Linked DNA regions of Homo sapiens: all the other regions are linked to region 4. The links are contacts of gene promoters, found by promoter capture Hi-C in blood cells and fetal thymus (Javierre and others, 2016). All regions are on one chromosome and are shown on one strand. The core of a region is centred on a gene start or on the middle of the fragment in contact, and the rest is flanking DNA. Distances in the headings are between cores, read along the strand shown. Region 1 overlaps LOC124901774 (a long non-coding RNA gene). Region 2 has its middle 26 kb from the start of GIMAP4. Region 3 overlaps LOC124901774 (a long non-coding RNA gene). Region 4 holds the start of GIMAP8 (GTPase, IMAP family member 8).

Region 1 (3,257 bases), core at 87-2,586, 220 kb after region 4:
GAAAATCACACTAACATCATCTTTCACCTATCAGTTTGGCAAAGATAAAATTATGAGAAATCAATATGGGAAACTAATAAAATGCTGGTGAAACTAATTTGACTAAAATTTTTATTGTAAGCAATTCAGTAATATCTTTCAAAATTACAAATGCATGTACCAATTGTATAGCAATTCTCCTTGTAGGAACCCACTCAGGTGATTTGATTATCTGTTGCTGCATAAGAAACTACTCCAAAACTCAGTGGCTTAAAACAACGTGTTTTTGTGTGTCAAGAATTTGGGCAGAGCACACTGGGTACAACTTGACTTCACTCCTTGCAGACTGGGCCTCAGTTGGAGTGGCTCAAATGGCTCTAGATGGGGTGGGGGACAGATCAATGAGGGCCACATGTGGGAGCCTCTCGTTGTCAACTGTGTCCCTAGCTTCTTCTCCACGTTGCACCTGCTGAGCCTAGAATATCCCAAATCGCTTCTACCCTCCTTCACCAAGGTAACAGACTCTTTTCCTGGTGGTTTTACTTTCCCAGGTTTATCATAGAATTGTAAAGTCAACAGAACTTAAAGGTACTATTGGTCAGCTTTATTCCCTGTTTGACTCATAATAGCCAGGAAAACAGATTGTGTGTGAGAAGCAGGTTCTCAGATGCTCAGAGATCTTTATAAAGCCCTGACTCACCCACAACTCTTTGCCTTCATGGCCTGCTGAGTCTTTTACAATGCCACCCCATTACATCTCACAGTAGAGGAATCCCTTGCTCCGAATGTCATACATCCCAAAAAAAGTTACATAGCAAAATTCCACAATAGGGGTTCTATATTTCATCATTTAAAGGGGAAAAGCTGCAGTACATTTCTAGCCCATCCAAAAACCCCAACAATTTCCTCCAGATATCACTAAAACACTTTTAAACAATCAAAGCAATATAATAAAAATCACCAATGATTTCTGCAAAATGTAAGGCCATTAAATGCCAATCAGCTAATTGTTTAGCTGATTATTTGCCAGTGATTTAACACTACACTCATATCTGTCTGCAGTAAGCAATGATATAAATGCAAACATTCTTTTCTACTACACTTCTACAAGCATTCAGAAAAATTGATTAAATACAAAAATAGGTTCATATAGATAACAAAATCAAATTTCACTCACAAATTTAAAAAAGGATTATTTACTAATTAGAATTGCCTAAATGAGGTTTAGAGGAGAGGAGAGGGAGACCGGAGTCCTCACGGTGGCTGTTCAGCGGGGTGAGTGTGTGGGATGAGCTGATAAAGGAGGAGGTGGAATTGTTCACTCCTGGGGTTTGTCCATATCCAGTTCCAAGGGACTGGGAACTGTCTTTATGGCATTTGACCCTCCAGAAGGAGATGACTGTGGCCTGTTGTCTGAAATCATAGTCAAAGCAATGTGATGGGAAAAACTCAAAATGGCCATGTCTTTGTGTTTCCTCTGCTTGAAAGCATACGGACCCCTGGGTAATAATGTAACACTGTGCTTGAGATTGCATCATATAGTGGAATGCTTCTGTTGATGACTTTTGTATGATTTTAAAGTTTCTTTTATTATTATTATTATACTTTAAATTCTGGGATACATGTGCACAACGTGCAGGTTTGTCACATAGGTATACACGTGCCATGCTGATTTGCTGCACCCATCAACCCGTCATCTACATTAGGTACTTCTCCTAATGCTATCCCTCCCCTAGCCCCCCACCCCGCAACAGGCCCCAGTGTGTGATGTTCCCCTCCCTGTGGCCATGTGTTCTCTTTGTTCAACTCCCACTTATGAGTGAGAACATGCGGGGTTTGGTTTTCTATTCCTGTGTCAGTTTGCTGAGAATGATTATTTCCAGCTTCATCAACATCCCTGTAAAGAGCATGAACTCATCCTTTTTATGGCTGTATAGTATTCCGTGGTGTATATGTGCTGCATTTTCTTTATCCAGTCTATTATTGATGGGCATTTGTGTTGGTTCCAAGTCTTTGCTATTGTGAACAATGCTGCAATAAACATGTGTGTGCATGTGTCTTTATAGTAGAAAGATTTATAATCCTTTGGGTATATACCCAGTAATGGGATTGCTGGGTCAAATGATATTTCTGGTTCTAGATCCTTGAGGAATCGCTACACTGTCTTCCACAATGATTGAACTAATTTACACTTGCACCAACAGTGTAAAAGCGTTCCTATTTCTCCACATCCTCTCCAGCATCTGTTGTTTCCTGACTTTTTAATGATCATCATTCTAACTGGCGTGAGATGGCATCTCATTGTGGCTTTGATTTGCATTTCTCTAATGACCAGTGATGATGAGCTTTTTTTCATGTTTGTTGGCTGCATAAATGTCTTATTTTGAGAAGTGTTTGTTCATATCCTTTGCCCACTTTTTGATGGGGTTGTTTTTTTCTTGTAAATTTGTTTAAGTTCTTTGTAGATTCTGGGTATTAGCCCTTTCTCAGATGGATAGATTGCAAAAATTTTTAAATTCAAAAATGTACTCAATTAATCTTTAAGATTATTCTGCAAGATTGACTCCTTCTTGCAACTCTGAGCATTGGTTTGAACTGAATTCTCTGGCAGTAAGTCCTTTGCTATGTAAGGCTCATAGCTCTTCACATTCTTCACTGTACATGTCACCAATTCAGACCTCTTCAAAAAGATCCAAAAAAAAAAAAGATCCAAGAAGGGTTTTTCTGTTGGTGATGTTGGTGTTGGTGTTGTTATTGTGTTGCTTTGCAGTCATCACTTCATGAAACTTTGGAAATCAGCAATAAATTGTCCCTTTCTCATAGAAGAACTTTCACTTAATAATGTGGAGAAAATGATTCCAACAATTAAAAACCAATTTAGACAACGTGGGAACAAGACAGGATCTTGTCAGGAAACAACTGAGATATGACTGCAGTTTACTTCACTTTCACCCTACAGACTCAAGGGCAATATCCATGTTTTACTGGTGTACACAACCAGATTTGCTTCAGTGGAGTTTCAATTCAAATAATGAATTTTGGGTGAAATCAATTGAAAGTTATTTATGGCAAATATTTAAATTTGGGGAGTTTAAATAGTGAGGGAGAGCTTGAAGTTAAACATCTCCTGAATTCTTAATTATTCCAAAATATAATGATGAATTGAAAACTGCCTAGTAAGTCAGGAAGCTAAACAAGCCTAAAAGAAGTCACTGCAATTTTTTTTTTTTTACGAAATTTTCCTGGACTAAATTCTTTTTCTTTTCGTTTTTTATTAT
Region 2 (3,178 bases), core at 647-3,146, 140 kb after region 4:
ATATCTATTTTGTTAATCTTTTTTAAAGAAAAAAAACAGCTCCTGGATTCATTGATTTTTTGAAGGTTTTTTCATGTCTCTACGTCCTTCAGTTCTGGTCTGATCTTATTTCTTGTCTTGTAGCTAGCTTTTGAATTTGCTTGCTTTTGCTTCTCTAGTCCTTTTAATTGTGATATCATGGTGTCAATTTTAGATATTTCCCTTTTTTTCCTGTAGGCATTTAGTGCTATAATTTTTCCTCTAAACACTGCTTTAGCTGTGTCCCAGAGATTCTGATACATTGTGTCTTTGTTCTCATTAGTTTCAAAGAACTTCATTATTTCTACCTTAATTTCGTTATTTACCCAGTAGTCATTCAGGAGCATGTTGTTCACTTTCCACGTTCTCGTGCAATTTTGAGTGAGTTTCTGAATCTTGAGTTCTAATTTGATTGCACTGTGGTCTGAGAAACTGTTACTATTTCCCTTCTTTTGCATTTGCTGAGGAGTGTTTTACTTCCAATTATGTGGTCAGTTTTAGACTAAGTGCAATGTGGTGCTGAGAAGAATGTATATTCTGTTGATTTGGGGTGGAGAGTTCTTTAGATGTCTACTGGGTCTGCTTTGTTCAGAGCTAAGTTCAAGTCCTGAATATTGTTGTTAATTATCTGTCACGTTGATCTGTCTAATATTGACAGTGAGGTGTTAATGCCTACCACTACTATTGTGTGGGAGTCTAAGTCTCTTCATAGGTCTCTAAGAACTTTATGAATTTGGGTGCTCCTGTATTGGGTGCATATATATTTAGGATAGTTAGCTCTTCTTGTTGCATTGATCTCTTTACCATTATATAATGCCCCTCTTTGTCTTTTTTGATCTTTGTTGGTTTAAAGTCTGTTTTTATCAGAGACTAGGATTACAACCCCTGCTTTTTTTCTCTCTCTATTTGCTTGGTAAATATTCCTCCATCCATTTATTTTGAGCCTATGTCTGTCTTTGCACCTAAGATGGGTCTCCTGAATACAGCAGCACACGTTGGGTCTTGACTCTACATCCAATTTGCCAGTCTGTGTCTTTTAATTGGGGGCATTTAGCCCATTTACATTTAAAGTTAATATTGTTATGTGAATTTGATCCTGTCATTATGATGCTAGCTGGCTATTTTGCCCATTAGTTGATGCTGTTTCTTCATAGTGTCAATGGTCTTTACAATTTGTTATGTTTTTGCAGCAGCTGGTACTGGTTGTTTCTTTCCATGTTTCATGCTTCCTTCAGGTGTTCTTGTAAGGCAGGCCTGATGGTGACAAAATCTCTCAGTATTTGCTTGTCTGTAAAGGATTTTATTTCTGTTTCACTTATGAAGCTTAGTTTGGCTGGATATAAAATTCTGGGTTGAAATTTCTTTTATTTCAGAATGTTGAATATTGACAACCCCCAACTCTCTTCTGCCTCGTATGGTTTCTGCAGAGAGATACACTGTTAATCTGATGAGCTTCCCTTTGTGGGTAACCTGATCTTTCTCTCTGGCTGCCCTTAACGTTTTTTTCCTTCATTTCAACTTTGTTGAATCTGACAATTATATGTCTTGGGGTTGCTCTTCTCGAGGAGTATCTTTGTGGTGGTTTCTGAATTTCTTGAATTAGAATGTTGGCCTGTCTTGCTAGGTTGGGGAAGTTCTCCTGGATAATATCCTGGAGAGTGTTTTTCAACTTGGGTCCATTTTCCCCATAACTTTCAGGTACACCAATCAAATGTCTTTTCACATAGTTCCATATTTCTTGGAGGCTTTGTTCCTTCCTTTTCATACTTTTTTTCTCTAATCTTTCCTTCATGCTTTATTTCATTAAGTTGATCTTCAGTCTCTGAAATCCTTTCTTCAGCTTGATCCATTTGGCTATTGATACTTGTGTATACTTCACAAAGTTCTCGTACTGTGTTTTTCAGCTTCATCAGGTCATTTATGTTCTTCTCTAAACTGATTATTCTGGTTAGCAATTTCTCTAACCTTTTTCAAGGTTCTTAGCTTTCTTGCATTGGGTTAGAACATGCTTCTTTAGCTCAGAGGTGTTTGTTATTACCCACCTTCTGAAGCCTACCTCTGTCGATTCTTCAAATTCATTCTCTGTCCAGTTTTGTTCCCTTGCTGGTGAAGAGTTGTGATCCTTTGGAGGAGAAGAGGCATTCTGGTTTTTGGAATTTTCAGCCTTCTTGCACTGGCTTTTCCTCATCTTCGTCAATTTATCTGCCTTTGGTCTTTCATGTTGGTGACCTTCAAATGGGGTACCTGTGTGGACGTCCTTTTTGTTGATGTTGATGCTATTCTTTTCTGTTTGTTAGTTTTCTTTCTAACAGTTAGGTCCCTTTTCTGCAGGTCTGCAGGAGTTTTTTGGAGATCCACCCCAGACCCTGTTTGCTTGGATATCACCAGCCGAGGCTGCAGAATAGCAAAGATTGCTGCCTGTTCCTTCCTCTGGAAGCTTTGTCTTAGAGGGACACCTGCCATGTGCCAGCTGGAGCTCTCCTGTATGAGGTGTTTGTTGACCCCTGCTGGGAGGTTTCTTCCAGTCAGGAGGCACCAGGATCAGGGACCTACTTGAGGAGGCAGTCTGTCCCTTAGCAGAGCTCAAGTGCTGTACTGGGAGATCCACTGCTCTCTTCAAAGCCAGCAGGCAGGAAAGTTTAAGTCTGCTGAAGCTGTGCCCACTGCTGCCCCTTTTCCCAGGTGCTCTGTCCCAGGAAGATGGGAGTTTTATCTATAAGCCCCTGACTGCGGCTGCTGCCTTTCTTTCAGAGATGCCCTGCCCAGAGAGGAGGAATCTAGAGAGGCAGTCTGGGTACAGGGGCTTTGCTGAGCTGCAGTGGGCTTTGCTCAGTTCAAACCTCTTGGGGACTTTGTGTACACCATGAGGAGAAAACCACCTACTCAACCCTCAGCAATGCTGGATACCACCCCTCCCCGCCCACCCCCCAAGCTCAAGCATCTCAGGTTGACTTCAGACTGCTGTGCTGGCAGTGAGAACTTCAAGCCAATGGGTCTTAGCTTGCTGGACTCCATGGGGGTGGGATCTGCTGAGCTAGACCACTTGGCTCCCTGGCTTCAGCCCCCTTTCTAGGGGAGTGAACAGTTCTGTCTTGCTGGCATTCCAGGCACCACGGGCGTATGAAAAAAAATCTCCTGCAGCTAGCTCGGTGTCTGCCCA
Region 3 (3,376 bases), core at 634-3,133, 200 kb after region 4:
TTTCATTCTCCTACACGTGGCTGCCAATTACCCCAGCAACATTTGTTGAAAAAGGTGTCCTTTCCCCCACTTTATGTTTTTGTTTGCTTTGTCAAAGATCAGTTGGCTATAAGTATTTGGGTTTATTTCTGGATTCTCTATTCTGTTCCATTGGTCTATGTGCCTATAAAACAGTATCACACTGTTTTATGGTTCGAAATTAGGTAGCGTGATGCATTCAGATTTGTTCTTTTTGCTTAGTCATGCTTTGGCTATGTGGGCTCCTTTTTGGTTCCTTATGAAGTTTAGAATTGTTTTTTCTAATCTTGTGAAGAATGATGGTGGTATTTTGATGGGGATTGCACTGACTTTGTAGATGGCTTTTGGCAGTATGGTCATTTTCACAATATTGATTCTACCCATCCATGAGCATGGGATGTGTTTCCATTAGTGTCACCTATGATTTCTTTAAGACGTGTTTTGTAGTTTTCCTTGTAGAGGTGTTTCAGCTCCTTGGTTAGGTATATTCCTAAGTATTTTATTTTATTTTATTTTATTTTATTTTATTTATTTTTTGCAGCTATTGTAAAAAATATTGAGTTCTTGATTTGATTCTCTGCTTGGTTGCTGTTGGTGTATAGAAGAGCTACTGATTTATGTACATTAATTTTATATCCAGAACTTTGCTGAATTCTTTTATCAGTTCTAGGAGATTTCTGGAGGAGTCCTTAGGGTATTCAAGGTAAACAATCATATCATCAGCAAATAGTGACAATTTTACTTTCTCTTTACTGATTGGATGCCCTTTATTTCTTTCTCTTGTCTGATTGCTCTGGCTAGGACTTCTAGTACTATGTTGAAGAGGAGCAGTGAGAGTGGGCATCCTTGTCTGGTTCTAGTTCTCAGGGAGAATGCTTTCAGCTTTTCCCTATTCAGTATTATGTTGGCTATGGGTTTGTCATAGATGGCTTTTATTACATTAAGGTATGGTCCTTTTATGCTGATTTTGATGAGAGTTTTAATCATAAAAGGATGCTGGATTTTGTCAAATGCTTTCTCCACATCTATTGAGATGATCATGTGATTTTTGTTTTTAATTCTGTTTATGTGGTATAACACATTTATTGACTTGCATATGTTAAACCATCCCTGTACCCCTGGTATGAAACCTACTCGATCATATTTTTTGATATGTTGGATTCAGTTAGCTAGTATTTTGTTAAGGATTTTAGCATCAATGTTCATCAAGGATATCAGTCTGTAGTTTTCTTTTTTGATTATGTCCTTTCCTGGTTTTGGTATTACTGTGATGCTGGCTTCATAAAATGAATTAGGGAGGGTTCCTTCTTCCTCTATCTTGTAGAACAGCATCAAAAGGATTGGTACCAATTCTTCTTTGAATGTGTGGTAGAATTCTACTGTGAATCTATCTGGTCCTGGACTTTTTTTTTTGTTGTGTGTTTGGGAGAGGAGGGTCTCCCTTTCCCACTTCTGCAGTTGGGGCACTCACAGTATTTGGGGTATCTCCCAGGTCCTGCAGGAGCAGACTGCTTCCTTTGGAGGGTCCTCTCAGGGTTGCTGGTTTGTTCTTGCAGTTGATCTGCCGCTAAAATTCACAATGTGAGCTTCCACAAGCTGCTCTGTCCAGAACTGCAATCTGGTCCTGCCTGCCATCTGCTATGATGATCTAATTGTCTCCCATTTAGGAAAGTTTTAAAATGATTTTTCTAGGCCAGGCGCGGTGGCTCATGCCTGTAATCCCAGCACTTTGGGAGGCTGAGGCGAGTGGATCACAAGGTCAGGAGTTTGAGACCAGCCTGACCAACGTAATGAAACCCCGTCTCTACTAAAAATACAAAAAAATTAGCTGGACGCCATGGCGGGTGCCTGTAATCCCAGCTACTTGGGAGGCTGAAGCAGGAGAATCGCTTGAACCTGGGAGGGGGAGGTTGCAGTGAGCCGAGATCATGCTACTGCACTCCAGCCCGGATGCCAGTGTGAGACTCCATCTCAAAAAAAAAAAATGATTTTTTCTGTCTCTCTCTCATCTTTGGCTTTTCAGTATGGGATAGAGGGAAAAGTCCACAGAGAAGTGCGGAGCCCTCCCCATGGACTCTCCAATCCAAGGCTTGCTCCCAGCTCACCTTCTGAGCAAAGTGTGGATCATTTCCTTTGCCCTCCCCTGACCTATTTATCACATGATGTCAATGAAAATGTACAATCATGGTTTGAGAGTAACCAAGGACAGGCTGTAGAGTGCATGGTTAAGAGTGAGTGTGGTAGAGTCACACTTCAACTCAAATATTTTTATCATTCTAAAATCAAATCTTCATAACAGTCAATTCAAAGAAGTCCAGCTTCTGCTCTCATTTCTATTCCCTCCCTCTGTACACAGGTAACTTTTTCCTTCCTTGTTACTCTTTCTTGCTTTCTTCTTTTATTTCTTCCTTTCTTCTACCTCTCTTTTTCTCTTTTTCTTCTTTCCCTTCCTTCTTTCTTTCCTTGCTTGTTTTCAAAGTATATCTTTCTATTGTCATCCTTATATTTATGTATCTATATGAAAATATATAACATATAAATATAATAAATATATATGCAAAAGTGTATCTTGTGCCCCTTACTAAACAAATGATAGTATCCCTTACATTATTTTATTCAACTCATAATTGAATAAAATACTTAGCAATATATCCTGGAGATGATTTTACAACTCTCTATAGAGATAGTCTTCACTACTTTTTACAATGAAGAAGTACTTCATTGCATAGATGTATCTAAGTTCATCCCGCCAGTCTCTTATTCATGGTAATTTGGATCAGTTTTTGTCTTTGCTTTTTTAAATAGTACTCTTCCAAGGAGATTTTTGCATAGTTCTTTCTATACTTTTGCCAGTGTATTTTTGGGCACATTCTTAAATTTGATAATGTGTGTCAAAGGGTAAATCCTTCTTTATTTACCCCCATAGGGCTGAACTCTTTTGCTTTCCCTTCAGCAGTGTCTGAGAGTTTCTGTCTTCCCTATACTTTTGTCAAGAAAGTAGGCTGTCAAACTTTAGGAGTTTTGCCAAATCTATACATGAGAAACATTCTCTGGAATCTACCCCTTTTCCAAGGACTTTTGGTTCTGGTTATTGGGTAATAAACAAAGATTTGGACACTTGATGTGCTCATTGCTAGAAGGTGTCACTTTTTCTAAGCTCGCCTTAGCAGACAGAGCTGGGAAAGCCATGCGTGCAAATTTACATATGCAAATCCACATACTTATGTTGATTTCTGCATCTCTCTATCTACATGCTTTTAAAAAGCAGTAAGTTCTATTCTTATTTGTAACTTGTTTGTGCAACATTATTTGCAATATACATACTACTTTGTTCAATCCTATTGTTACTGATAGAGTT
Region 4 (3,129 bases), core at 451-2,950:
TCTGCACGGAAATCAATTCTCTAGGAGCTGATTTGCTGAAAGATCATTTTGCAAAATGGTCAACTCAGCAAATAATCGACTTGCTGAATCTTTGAGGAGTTATTTGCAGCTTCAGTTTTACTTAGAGCAATCCCTGGATGCTTAATATTTCATTTAAGAATGAGTGAGCCTTTTCTTCTCTATTTTGGGGAAACAGTTTCTTGCTGAGCCTCTGCCTCTGTTAGTACCCCAGCGGGGATGAACTGCAGTACCTGGCTTCGGGTTTTTGTCTTTTCATTATAATGAGTTGGTTTTATGTGCGTTGACCTACTGTAAAGGAAGGGTGGGGTTCTTCCAAAATAGATCCTCTTTCAATGAGGAGACAGGTAGAGTGGGACATGGGAAGGGCTTTGTCAGCTTTCCCCATCAAGATGTGTCCTGTGTGTCCCCAAAGCTCTTCTTGAGCCATCCCAGCATAACCAGGGTTTCCCTCAGGTTCATAACAAGGTAGAGCAGTCCTCAAGGCTGGCGCATGAAGACCAGTCCAGGGGGAGGGTGGATCCCTCGGGATGTGATAGGCTGACAGCAGCTCCCCAAAGCCTGTGGTTTTGACTACTGTAGAGACTTCATATCTGAAGCATGCCCCTCTACTTCAGCCACCCCCACTGCTCCTCCTTCTGCGGGGTCCCTTTGGAAAGCTTAGCACCACCTCAGACATTTGGAAAACTAACTTGAGCTCCAGTCCCTCGAGGCCCTAGCCTCTGCATCCTGTGAAGAGGGCCCTGCTGTGCAGAGCGCAGAGGGTCCCGCACTCACTTGGATGAACCTCTAGGGCATTCTGCTCAGTCTCAGGAGGGCAGACACTGTGGGACTCCACTCACATGAGTATCTGACGTTGCCAAAAATCATAGAAACAGGCCGGGTGTGGTGGCTCACACCTGTAATCCCAGCGCTTTGGGAGGCTGAGGCAGGTGGATCACTTGAGGTCAGGAGTTCAAGACCAGCCTGGCCAACATGGTGAAACCCCGTTTCTACTAAAAATACAAATATTAGCCGTGTGTGGTGGCGGGAACCTGTAATCCCAGCTACTCGGGAGGCTGGGGCAGGAGAATTGCTTGAACTCGGGAGGTGGAGGTTGCAGTGAGCCGAGATCACACCATTGCACTCCAGCCTGGGCGACAGAGCAAGACTCTGTCTCAAAAAAAAAAAAAAAATCATAGAAACGGAAAGTAGAACGGTGGTTACCCGGGCTGGGGTTCGGGGAGGTGAGTTGGGGTGTAATGGGGAGAGTTTGGGTGCTGCAGGATGAAAAGTCCTGCAGATCTGGCACACAACCATGTGAATGTACTTTCTACTGTGGGCTATACACTTAGAAATGGTTAGGATGGTACTATTAATGTTACATCATTTTTACCCTAGTAAACATTTTTTAAGAAGTCTTCCTCCGTGTTTGACTTCCTTATGAAGTAGAGACCAGGTAGTTTGGACACTATGTTCTTTCACAAAAGGGATTTCATTTTGTGAAATATTTGAAAGCATCGAAGTCTAGCATTTCACGTTTTGCAAGCTGGGGAAAAGCATTCATTCCCTGAGAAGCAGCGTTGGTCTGTCAGGCTTGGAGTTCCCCGGGTTGTGGGTTTTAGGGAAGGGAAGGGAAGCGAGGAAGGACTTGTGAGAGGAAGTCCTAAAGGCCACTTAAGGGCACACAGAGGCCCGGAGCTGGCTTTGCTCAGAGCTTGTAGCGGCGCCACAATCTCTGTCCTCTCAGGAACAGGAACTGGCTTGACGTCCTTTTCCTGCCCTATCCAAGCCCCTGTTCTTGCAGCCCTTCTGAAGCTCAGCCTGGCACCGGCCCCGGCGCCCCAGCCCCTGGCCAAGCCTCTGCTGTCATTTCTCCTCCCTCCTCTCAGTCTGCAGCTGCGGGACGGGCCGGGCTCCTCAGTTTCTGCTGTGTTGTGACCCCACGAGGCGCTCAGCACCCAGGGAAGGCGCGTGTGTCCCCGATGCTGGCTCCTCCCTGAGCCCCGACGGCTCTCGAGGTTCTGAGCCTGTGGCCTGCACAGGGAACTTCCTCTCCGACTGCATTTATGCCTCTGTGGATGTGAAGGCTATTTCTAGAAATCTCTTCCTTTGCAGAAACACCCGAAACCCTCCTGCCAGGAAGACCAGGGCCTGGGAAGAGGGTCGCTCTCCGGCCATTCTCCCCTCACCCTCCTCACCTTCCTCACATCCTGTGCCCTGGGGGACCAGCAGCTGCTTCCACCCAGGTGAGAGATGGAGGGATAGAGCCAGGTGGATTGCGGAGCCTCGGAGACTGTGGGACGCCGTGGGACCCCATGGGACACGACCGCAGTGCATGTGTGACATGTGCACTCGTGTGTAGATGTGTGTGCACTGGTGCATGGCTGTGGGGGAGGATGGGCTTGGCACCGGGAAGGCAGCCTGCTCAGCCATGGGAGAGGAGGCTGGGTTGAATGGCAGGGTTGAATGGCAGAGTTGAATGGCAGGGGCCCTGGGAAGCTTTCCTCCTGGTCCAAAGCGTGTCTCCCCAGCCTGCTGGGGAGTAGATTCGGCAGGATGGGGACAGAGGCATATTCCCAGACATCTATGAGAGTGGCTGTCCTAAAAGAAGGCGTGTCGGGGAGTGGGTGTGAGCCCTGAAGAGGAGGAGGGCTGAGACTGGCAGAAGGGAGGAAGAAGCAGGCGGAAGCAGCCGGTCAGATGCCCCATGAAGCTAGATGGTGCCGCAGAGCAGCCCCCAGGAGGAAGCCAGCGGAGCTCCTCCCGCAAAGCAGGGGGTGGGGGATGCTGATTTTTCCACGTCTGCTTTTCTGATCTTTCCTGCCCCTTGCACAGTTAGGATTCTGTGAACTGGGCATTGGAGGGATTGGAGGGGTCAAGACCTTACCAAAAGCAATATTTCTGATTTCACCTACATTTCAGCCAACCTGGTCCTCAGCAGTTAACCTCTTCCCTTCCTCTTGATGGTTGCCCTGCTGGGCTGGGTCTAAGGTCTTCCCCACGCTGGGCTCTGGAGGCATCTCCAACCACCCTGCTCTGTAAGTGGGAACTGCGATTAGATGTGGGATGAATCCCCGCATGGCTGGATGCTGTGCTCAGATGCCTGAGTCCACGTTTGCCTTGGGCTGT

Evidence for each region. Contacts are between HindIII fragments. The CHiCAGO score rates a contact against its expected background, and 5 or more counts as called.
Region 1: a fragment that was not itself captured here is called in contact with the fragment with the promoter of GIMAP8 in region 4 in 13 of 17 cell types (non-activated CD4 T cells, activated CD4 T cells, total CD4 T cells and 10 more); the score reaches 32.5 in non-activated CD4 T cells.
Region 2: a contact is called between a fragment that was not itself captured here and the fragment with the promoter of GIMAP8 in region 4, in 1 of 17 cell types (non-activated CD4 T cells). The highest score is 5.1, in non-activated CD4 T cells.
Region 3: a contact is called between a fragment that was not itself captured here and the fragment with the promoter of GIMAP8 in region 4, in 8 of 17 cell types (non-activated CD4 T cells, activated CD4 T cells, total CD8 T cells and 5 more). The highest score is 12.8, in non-activated CD4 T cells.

Annotation. Positions count from the first base shown.
Region 1 is chr7:150,670,483-150,673,739 of GRCh38, forward strand. The region is part of intron 2 of LOC124901774 (a long non-coding RNA gene); the gene reads right to left. Among named protein-coding and RNA genes, the nearest start is that of GIMAP2, 14 kb to the right of the region's middle. The HindIII fragment of the contact is 9,573 bases long and covers 1-3,257 here.
Region 2 is chr7:150,591,651-150,594,828 of GRCh38, forward strand. No RefSeq gene overlaps it. Among named protein-coding and RNA genes, the nearest start is that of GIMAP4, 26 kb to the left of the region's middle. The HindIII fragment of the contact is 1,114 bases long and covers 1,340-2,453 here.
Region 3 is chr7:150,651,681-150,655,056 of GRCh38, forward strand. The region is part of intron 3 of LOC124901774 (a long non-coding RNA gene); the gene reads right to left. Among named protein-coding and RNA genes, the nearest start is that of GIMAP6, 21 kb to the left of the region's middle. The HindIII fragment of the contact is 6,469 bases long and covers 1-3,376 here.
Region 4 is chr7:150,448,930-150,452,058 of GRCh38, forward strand. GIMAP8 (GTPase, IMAP family member 8) reads left to right here and starts at 1,701. Exons shown (of 5, transcript NM_175571.4): 1 at 1,701-2,246. The HindIII fragment of the contact is 1,822 bases long and covers 676-2,497 here.